Regions from separate parts of the Homo sapiens genome. Here regions 2 and 3 are each linked to region 1. Evidence: promoter capture Hi-C in human tissues and cell types (Jung and others, 2019). All regions are on one chromosome and are shown on one strand. Each heading gives the region's core, a stretch centred on a gene start or on the middle of the fragment in contact. The rest is flanking DNA. Distances are from core to core; before and after follow the strand shown. Region 1 holds the start of CTNNBIP1 (catenin beta interacting protein 1). Region 2 overlaps UBE4B (ubiquitination factor E4B). Region 3 holds the start of PIK3CD (phosphatidylinositol-4,5-bisphosphate 3-kinase catalytic subunit delta).

The links. Contacts are between HindIII fragments. The study calls those that stand out against the background at their distance.
Region 2: a contact is called between a fragment that was not itself captured here and the fragment with the promoter of CTNNBIP1 in region 1, in 2 of the 25 tissues and cell types used here (dorsolateral prefrontal cortex and hippocampus).
Region 3: a contact is called between the fragment with the promoter of PIK3CD here and the fragment with the promoter of CTNNBIP1 in region 1, in 3 of the 25 tissues and cell types used here (adrenal gland, small bowel and spleen).

Annotation. Positions count from the first base shown.
Region 1 is chr1:9,908,933-9,911,688 of GRCh38, forward strand. It overlaps CTNNBIP1 (catenin beta interacting protein 1), which reads right to left and starts at 1,337. Exons shown (of 6, transcript NM_020248.3): 1 at 1,163-1,337. RefSeq lists silencers at 885-944, 1,115-1,174, 1,185-1,784 and enhancers at 1,932-2,605, 2,606-2,756. The HindIII fragment of the contact is 11,728 bases long and covers 1-2,756 here.
Region 2 is chr1:10,180,420-10,183,175 of GRCh38, forward strand. It overlaps UBE4B (ubiquitination factor E4B), which reads left to right. Exons shown (of 28, transcript NM_001105562.3): 28 at 1-820. Among named protein-coding and RNA genes, the nearest start is that of KIF1B, 29 kb to the right of the region's middle. The HindIII fragment of the contact is 5,206 bases long and covers 1-2,756 here.
Region 3 is chr1:9,650,324-9,653,079 of GRCh38, forward strand. It overlaps PIK3CD (phosphatidylinositol-4,5-bisphosphate 3-kinase catalytic subunit delta), which reads left to right and starts at 1,408. Exons shown (of 24, transcript NM_005026.5): 1 at 1,408-1,479. It overlaps PIK3CD-AS1 (PIK3CD antisense RNA 1), which reads right to left. Exons shown (of 2, transcript NR_027045.1): 2 at 2,287-2,756. RefSeq lists a silencer at 1,321-2,210 and an enhancer at 2,391-2,460. The HindIII fragment of the contact is 15,008 bases long and covers 1-2,756 here.

The sequences.
Region 1 (2,756 bases), core at 87-2,586:
CTCCCCCAGCAAACCGTGAATGACACATTGGCATTTAACAGCCCGCACCTTTATTTATGATCCAAAGTCCTACTTTAAATCTGAGGAAGCTGCTGGTATCTCTGGACATTTTAATGGCACAAGAGATCAGTTATCACTTGGGGACACACTCCAGGAACTGGAGCCCAGTGGTTGTAGCAGGGAGCTAAGAGCCAAGGCTCCTGCGAACAGAACTTCAAGACAAACCATGACTTGCCTCCAGGTCCCTTACCCACACACCCTGTACCTCAATTTACCCAGCAGTTGGCCAGACATGTTCCTCTCAGTTCTGTGAGTGACAGGAGACAAAATAATTCACAGCTGGAGCATACTGAGATCCTCAGACAGGAGGTGGTGCAAGCCACACGTCTCATTATTCATAAAACTCTTGATTTGCGGCCAACACGGCCCCCGCCGCCTTCCCAGGGGCTAACCTGACAACAGGCACTGCTCAGACAAGTTCAGCTCACAAGGCAGAGGGAGGGATGGAGGGCCTAGCAGAGGCTGGGTGTCCAGACCTGAGTGTCTCGGTTACCAGGTTCCAAAAAAAGGAAGGTGGTTGGGGTGGGGTGATGAAAAGGAGGTGAGAGGTGCAGTTTGGGGCTCCAGGTGGTTAATTTTGCAGGTTCGTGCATACACGCCCGCCATCCAGGTGAGATATGTGCCCCCACCAGGTACCTTCCAGGAAGGCTCACCGGGGAGGGGTGGAATCGGGAGACGACAGTTCAATCAAACTACAGAGGGAGGAAGGGCGGCCCAGCGTTTAGTTTGGGGAAATATGGAGAGTAAGAGTCTCAGAGTGGGCGCAGGTGAGGGAAGAGGCAGGGGCCCAGAGGTCGGGAGGGCGGACGGGCGATGACAGGCACCCGGACGCGGTGAGGTGAGCAACAAGGTGGGCGGCGCGGACACCTGTGGAGGCGACCCCCGGGCGAAGAGTCAGGGAGGCGGGAGGTGGTCTGCGGCGAGAGGCGGCCAGGCCCAGACCAGGGCGCCGCGCCGCTGGGGCAGTCAGGGGTCCGAGCGGGGTCGGGGGCGCTCTCCGCGGCCCCTCCCCGGCAGACAAAGGGCTGGCCGCTCCCCCAAGCCCCGGCGCGGCGCGGCGCGGGCCCGGGCGGTGCAGGCGCGGCCCGGCCTCGGCGCTTACCTGGGCCGCCCGACCCGGCCGGGCCGGCAGGGGCAGCGGGTCCGGCGCGCAGCGCGCGGCGGCCTGTTCCGGGGCGTGCTCAGCCCGAGCAGCCGCTGCGGCGGCGGCAGTAGCAGCAGCAGGAGCGGCCGCCTCAGCCTCCGCCTCCCGCTCCGAGAGTCACCGCGGTGGGGAGGGAGGGAGGCGCCAGGCCGCCGGGGGAGGGACCGGCGGAGGGGGCGGCATCTGGCTCCGCGCGGGCTGCTGAGGCGCGGCGGCGGCAACGCCCCGGAGGGAGGCGGGCGCGTGGGGCCGGGCGCCGGGGCGGGGCCTGCGGGCGGGGCGGGGCCCGGGGCCGCGAATTGGTTAACTCAGCCTGTGGGCGGGGCTGCGCGGTGCGGGGCGGGGCCTTGTGGCGCATGTGAACGCTCATTGGGCCCTCCTGGAAGGGGGCGAGACCAGCGACATAGGGACGGGGCCATGCGGTGGGCGGGTGGAACACGGCGCCGGTAGTGAGTGGCCGAGTCCGCGCTGAGAGCAAAGGGGAGGAGCGGGCCGGGGGTGAGCAGGGAAGGCGGGTTGGGCGCGAGGAGGAGGCGGTGGCCTGGAGGAGGAGCCGGGTAAGGCTGAAGCTGGCGCTGCGGTAAAGCCACTCTGCGTGTCCCTATCTGCTCCAGGAGCACAGTGTTCCGGAAAAATAATGGCCTCTCCCACACACCGGTCTGTGTTTAAAAACGGGAGCAACAAGACGGGGCAGAATCCTTGGTGAGGCCAGTTTACCCAGAACCCCGGAAAATTCTGAAATGGACGAGGTTGCAGAACATTTAGAGGCGTGGTCTTCCTGCGTCGTTGAGCTGGGAACGTTGCTACCTCTGAGCTTGGGGCCTAACCTGGGATTAACCTAGCCCAGAGAGCCCAGGGATGGGCCTCCGTAGGTCCATTAAACTCAGAAGGTCGTGTGTACTGGTAGTGAGTGGATTTTTCGGGGGAAGGGTGCCCATGATTAAAATGTTTCTACAGAAAGTCTGGCTGTATTTGGAGAGGGTACAGGGAGAAGCAGCCCATTTTAGGTAAAATGCAAATTGCTTTTAACATCCGCCTTCCTTTTAAAGGGACCTGTATCTTTAAGTGTGGTCTCATTTTCAGCAGTTTAAATTATCAGTTACACAGTGTGACACTAACCCCAGTTCAGAAGCCCTCCTACCCTACTCCTCCCACAGCCTTTCTTTTTACACCTTTTCTGTACCATCCTCTTCCACTCCACATTTCTTCCCCTTCCCTATGCAAAAAGAATACGAAGTCCTTTTTTGTTTGTTCGTTTATAATATAATATCCACATTACTCTTTACTCATTTGGGGGGTTTTTTTGTTTTTGAGAGGGAGTCTCGCTCTGTCGCCCAGGCTCAGGTGCAGTGGCGCGATCTTGGCTCACCGCAACCTCCGCTTCCCGGGTTCAAGCGATTCTCCTGCCTCAGCCTCCTGAGTAGATGGGATTACCGGCATGCGCCCCGGCTAATTTTTGTATTTTTAGTAGAGACGGGTTTTCTCTATGTTGGCCAGGCTGGTCTCCAACTTCTGACCCCAAGTGGTCTGCCCGCCTCGGCCTCCCAAAATG
Region 2 (2,756 bases), core at 90-2,589, 270 kb after region 1:
TTAAGAGAAGCAAAAACAAAAGTAAACTCCTTTCCCTGGCCCTCCAAACATATATTCTGTGAGATAACTGTGCCTGCTACCAAGTGTTAATCCTGGGATCGTATTTTTATATCATATTCACATATTTGTTTTTTTAATTGGTGTTAGATGACATGATTAATAAAAAAGGCAAGATATTTTCAGAATTTGAATTTCAGTTTTTTTTTTCTTTTGAAATGTCCCTTTAAGATTTTTTTATTCTAAACAAAATAAAGAAAATCCTGCTGCTCTGGTCCTTGTGATAAGCCTCTCTTCGGCATCTGAGGAGCAGCTGCAGCAAAATCTAGGGGTGTAAGTGTATCAGGACTTATGTGACTTATATTTTGGGGAGATGAGGGTTGGGTTTTTTTTTTAATGCTACGTGACAGTTTGAAACCTTCACAGTTATCCTCTGGGGGTAAATCAATTCTTCAACCCTTGGGTGTGTGAGTTTGAGGCAGGGTCATTTGTGTGATGTGTTTGGCCTTACCAAAGCAAAAGAGGGTGCAAGAATGTGGGAGTATGTCTGCCGGTTTCAACACACACAGACAAACACAGCCACACGCGCACACAAGTATAAGACTTTTTGTATTACTGCTCCCTACTTAACATACTTGAATTCTCAAATTTCCTTTGGGGTAAAAAAAAAAAAAGGATTTGAAACCATAAAGTGTTCTGAAGAAATTAAGTCTATAAAAAGCATACTTTCTTTTTTCTTTTCCTTTTTTCCCTCCACAGACAATGTCCTCTGTTCAATTCCTAACGCAAACTACAATAAATGGTGACACACGTTCAGAAGAAATCTTCTTTGAGTCTCTTCTCTTTTGTGGAAAAAAAAAAAGGGCAGGGCGGGTGGGTAAACAAGAGCCAAGTGAGTTTGCATGTGGTGAATGATCTTTCCTGGATCCAATTAGGAGCTGCTATTTTTAAAAGAAAACTTTCTTATTCATGTCAGTCTCGACATTTGGTTCTCATTTCACTGTTTGCTGATTTGAGGGGGTAAGCTTTGTCATATTCAGTCTTCTGCCTTTCTTGAGTTTCTTCTGCTTTATCTCAAGTATCTTCCCTGACCTTCAAGATTCTTCCTCAGGCCGGGCCCGGTGGCTCACGCCTGTAATCCCAGCACTTTGGGAGGCTGAGGCGGATGGATCACCTGACGTCAGGAATTCGAGACCAGCCTGGCCAGCATGGTGAAACCCCATCTCTACTAAAAATACAAAAAATTAGCCGGGCGTAGTGGCAGCGCCTGTAGTCCCAGCTACTCGGGAGGCTGAGACAGGAGAATTGCTTGAACCTGGGAGGTGGAGGTTGCAGTGAGCCGAGATGACGTCATCACACTCCAGCCTGGGTGACAGCGAGACTCCGTCTCAAAAAAGAAAAAATATATATTTATATATATTTACATATATATTTATTTATATATATTTATATATATATATATAACATGGCCAGGTGCGGTGGCTCACGCCTGTAATCCCAGCACTTTGGGAGGCCAAGGCAGGTGTATCGTCTGAGGTCAGGAGTTCTAGACCAGCCTGGCCAACATGGTGAAACCCCATCTCAACTGAAAATACAAAAATTAGCTGGGCGTGGTGGTGGGTGCCTATAATCCCAGCTACTCGGGGGGCCGAGGCAGGAGAATTGCTTGAACCCAGGAGGTGGAGGTTGCAGTGAGCTGAGATCGCGCCATCGCACTCCAGCCTAGGGGACAAGAGTGAGACTTCGTCTCAAAAAATAGATAGATAGATAGACACAATAAATAAGGAAAAAGTTCATGATAGCAAAAATTTTAGGCAATATAAGCAAAAAGAAAAAAAATCCATATTCTCACCATGCAGAAGATTCTGTTTAATTGGGTTTACTTTTTACTAAACTTACATATCTAAGCTTAGTGCCTGTAGAATTAGGATACTGACTGGCATCTTGCCTAATTTTGTTTGTGTGGTTATCTGACCAGTGTGTACTGCTTGTCTCCTCTCCATCCCAGATTCCAAACTCTTATTTTAATCCTCCAGTTGTCCCCGTGAATGTAATAAAATGCTGCTTTATACCGCCATATGCACTTGTCGTTTTGAATAATTCAGAGGTTTCAAGGACCTGCCGGATAGGACAGAGACACAGTCAGTCTCCTGCCTGTACTATCTATAGGGGGAAGATGATTTGGGTTTCCATTTTTAGAGTCTCAAGAGTTGCTGTTTTGTGTTTGTCTGCAGTCTCTTAATTGTGGATATTGAAATAAATCCCAAAATATATTAAAAGTAGGTCTTGGCTAAAAGGAAGATTGTCAAATAAGAGAATCAGATTGGCAGAAGAGAAATGATCCTTGAGAGAAAGATGATTAAAATCTGCCTTGTGTTGTGACTCAGTGTTGTGTAGATTTTAAAAAGATATTGATTGAATATCTTTTGAAAAAAAAGCTGAGCACACCGTTCACTTTTTGTAACCTCTGGGTTTGGTACATCGAGTAGTGAATTTCACAGCAATTTGATTGGAGTGCTAAAGTGACATGAATAGGCCTCATTTGAGTAGGTACTTTTTTTTGTTTTTTGGTTTTTTTCAGACGGAGTCTCGCTCCGTCACCCAGGCTGGAGTGCAGTGGCGCAATTTTGGCTCATTGCAACCTCCACCTTCCAGGTTCAAGTGATTCTCCTGCCTTAGCCTCCCGAGTAGCTGGGACTAGAGCACATGCCACCATGTCCAGCTAATTTTTTTTTTTTTTTTTTTTTTTTTTTAGTAGA
Region 3 (2,756 bases), core at 158-2,657, 260 kb before region 1:
AGGCAGGAGAATTGCTTGAACCCAGGAGGCTGAGGCTGTGGTGAGCCAAGATCACGCCACTGCACTCCAGCCTGGGCAACAGAACAAGATTCCTCAAAATAAACAAAACAAAGAAACAAAACAACAAAAAACAAACAAAAAAACATGAAAATCAGCTGGGTGTCGTGGCGTGTGCCTGTAATCCCAGCTACTTGGGAGGCTGAGGTAGGAGAATTGCTTGAACCCAGGATGCAGAGATTGCAGTGAGCCGAGATGGCACCACTGCATTCCAGCCTGGACAACAGAGCAAGACTGTCTCAAAAAAAAGAAAAGAAAAAAGAAAAAGAAAGAAAAGAAAAGAAAAAAAGGAATAGAGGCTTGGGATCCTGGGGAGGTGGTACACAAGTTAAGGGAGAGTGAGGGGAGAGAGGGTAAGGTGAATGAAGCTTGTCTTCTTATGCGGATAAAATTTCTCAGGTAAGAAAAGTTAGCTCTGAGCAGCCCTCCGCCTGATACTAATACTTTACCAATGGAGATTTTCCTTTTCTTTTCTGTTTTTGAGACAGGGTCTCACTTTGTTTCCCAGGCTGGAGTGCAGTGGTGCCATCATGGATCACTGCAGCCTCCATTTCCCTGGCTCAAGCCATCCTCCCACCTCAGCCTCCCGAGTAGCTGGGACTACAAGGTGTGCACCACCACGACTGGCTAATTTTTAATTTTTTTGTAGAGACGGGGGTTTCCCTATGTTGCCCAGGCTGGCTTGAATTCCTGGGCTCAAGTGATCCTCCCGCCTCGGCCTCCCAAATTGCTGGGATTGCAGGAGTGAGCCACAGTGCCAGGCCTGGAGATTTTCTTTATAGATAGAAATCATTTTACAAAAGGACAGCTTTTCAGATCTACTCCTGTGCCTGCAGTTTCTAAGAATAATCCCTTCAAAATATGGCGAAGAAGTATATTTTGGGGTGGCACACGCTGGTCTCCCATAGTCACATTTTGGGTGTGTGTCCTGAGCCCCAACACTGGTCACCTCGCAATGGCGCTTGGGGTCCCTGGGTGCCTAGAGCTGCAGGTTACCCCCTCTTCTTCTCCTGCTCTCAGCCTTTCTCCCGCTCCTGCTGAAATTCTTTCCTGCGTGAAGGCGGAGCGCTTAAAGGCGCCTAGGACCTTTATTTCGTTGTTTTCCTTTGCATAAAAAGAAAACTTGTTTTGTAGAAGGGCAAGCAAGGTGCAGCTTCCAGAGGCACCTGGGATGATGCCCCTCTAGCGGTAGGCGAACTGGGGAGTGTGGGCGGCGGGGGAAGGCGAGGCCCTGGAGGACCTGTTGTTTTTCCTGTTGCAAGTGAAAAGGAAACAAAGTGGGAAGTGGAGTGTGCGGGTTGGCGGCAGGCGGGGCGCCCCGGCGCGCCCCGCCTCCCTCCCTCGAGGCTCACTCGCGCCCAGCGCAGTCGCTCCGAGCGGCCGCGAGCAGAGCCGCCCAGCCCTGCCAGCTGCGCCGGGACGGTAAGCGATCGCCGCTGGCTGCGTCAGGGGAGGTGGGAAGAGGACCGCGGCCAGGGGCTTTGGGAGCTGCGGCTGCGCTCGGGGGCGCGGGGCTGGCTGGCGGGCGTCTCTCCGGCACACACAGCCCGTGCGCCCTGGCCCTGGGCGCCTCCCCGAGTCTAGCGAGCCGGGTCCTGGGAGCCCCGGGGGCCGGGCTGCTGGGACCTGGGCGGGGGCTGCCCTAGAGGCCCGGGGCCGTCCCCCGTGGGCCCGCCGAGAGGGGCGTGCGCAGCTCCCCGGCGCCTGCACTGCGCGCCTTGCCCGCCTGGCCCGGCAGCGGGGTTTCAGCTGCGCTCACAGCGGCGGTGCGGCCTCCGGTGCGCCGGCTGAGGCGCGAGGATACTGGAAGCGCTCAGCGCGTGCGCCCGCTCCGAGCGCTGACTAGAGGACCAGGGGCCTCCTCTGTACGGCAGCGGGGTCCACAGAGAGCGCGCTGGTGATGTCGCCCGAGTGCCCTGGCGCGGAGAGAGGGCTGCGCACAGTTCGCCGGCGCCCGGGTCCTGTGCGCCCTTCCCAGCCTGGGCAAGTGGGGAGCGGGGCTGCAGAGGGGCCGGGGTGGAAGTTTTCGGGGCTTCCTCCCGGCTCGTGGACCCGCGCCCCGCCTCCCAGTCCCGGGCCTCCCGCGTTGCTCGCCGCGTTTGCTGCAGCGGCGCAGGCGAGATCAGCTCCGGATCTGCGGCCGAGCCGGGGTTACGCCGGCAAAACCGCCCCCAGCTTTGCATTTCCGGACTTTTTAAAAAAATACTCTTACCCGTAATTCAGCCTGAATGAGGCTTTTTAAAAAAATCGAGTTTCCTGTTTTTATTTAGGCTTCCTCATTTGCACCTCCTCCTTTGAGGTAGAGAAGAGGGGAACTGGGACGACCTTTCGTGGGCACCAGGATGGGGGCGTTGCAGGGCGGGGAGACGGGGGTCCAGAGAACCGGGGAAGGGCCGCTGGGAGGTCCCGAAAAGTGCGCTGTGGGTGGGGCGAGGGTGAAGCAGGTAGGGGCGAGATTTCCGGGGTCGCGGGTGGGGGGCGCCCTGGAGCGGCCAAGGTGCAGGGTCCTCGCGTGGCACCCTTGGGATCTGCCCAGTTTGCGGATGGAGCGCGGGGCTGATCGGGCAGGTCTCACTTGTGCAGGTGTTCCCTGGAAGGTGGGACCTGCAGATCTTGAACCCCACCAGACTCCATCAAGGGGGCTTCTTCCCGCCGATTCCTGAGAAGTCCTACCTCTGAGATGCTGGGCACAGCCGCAC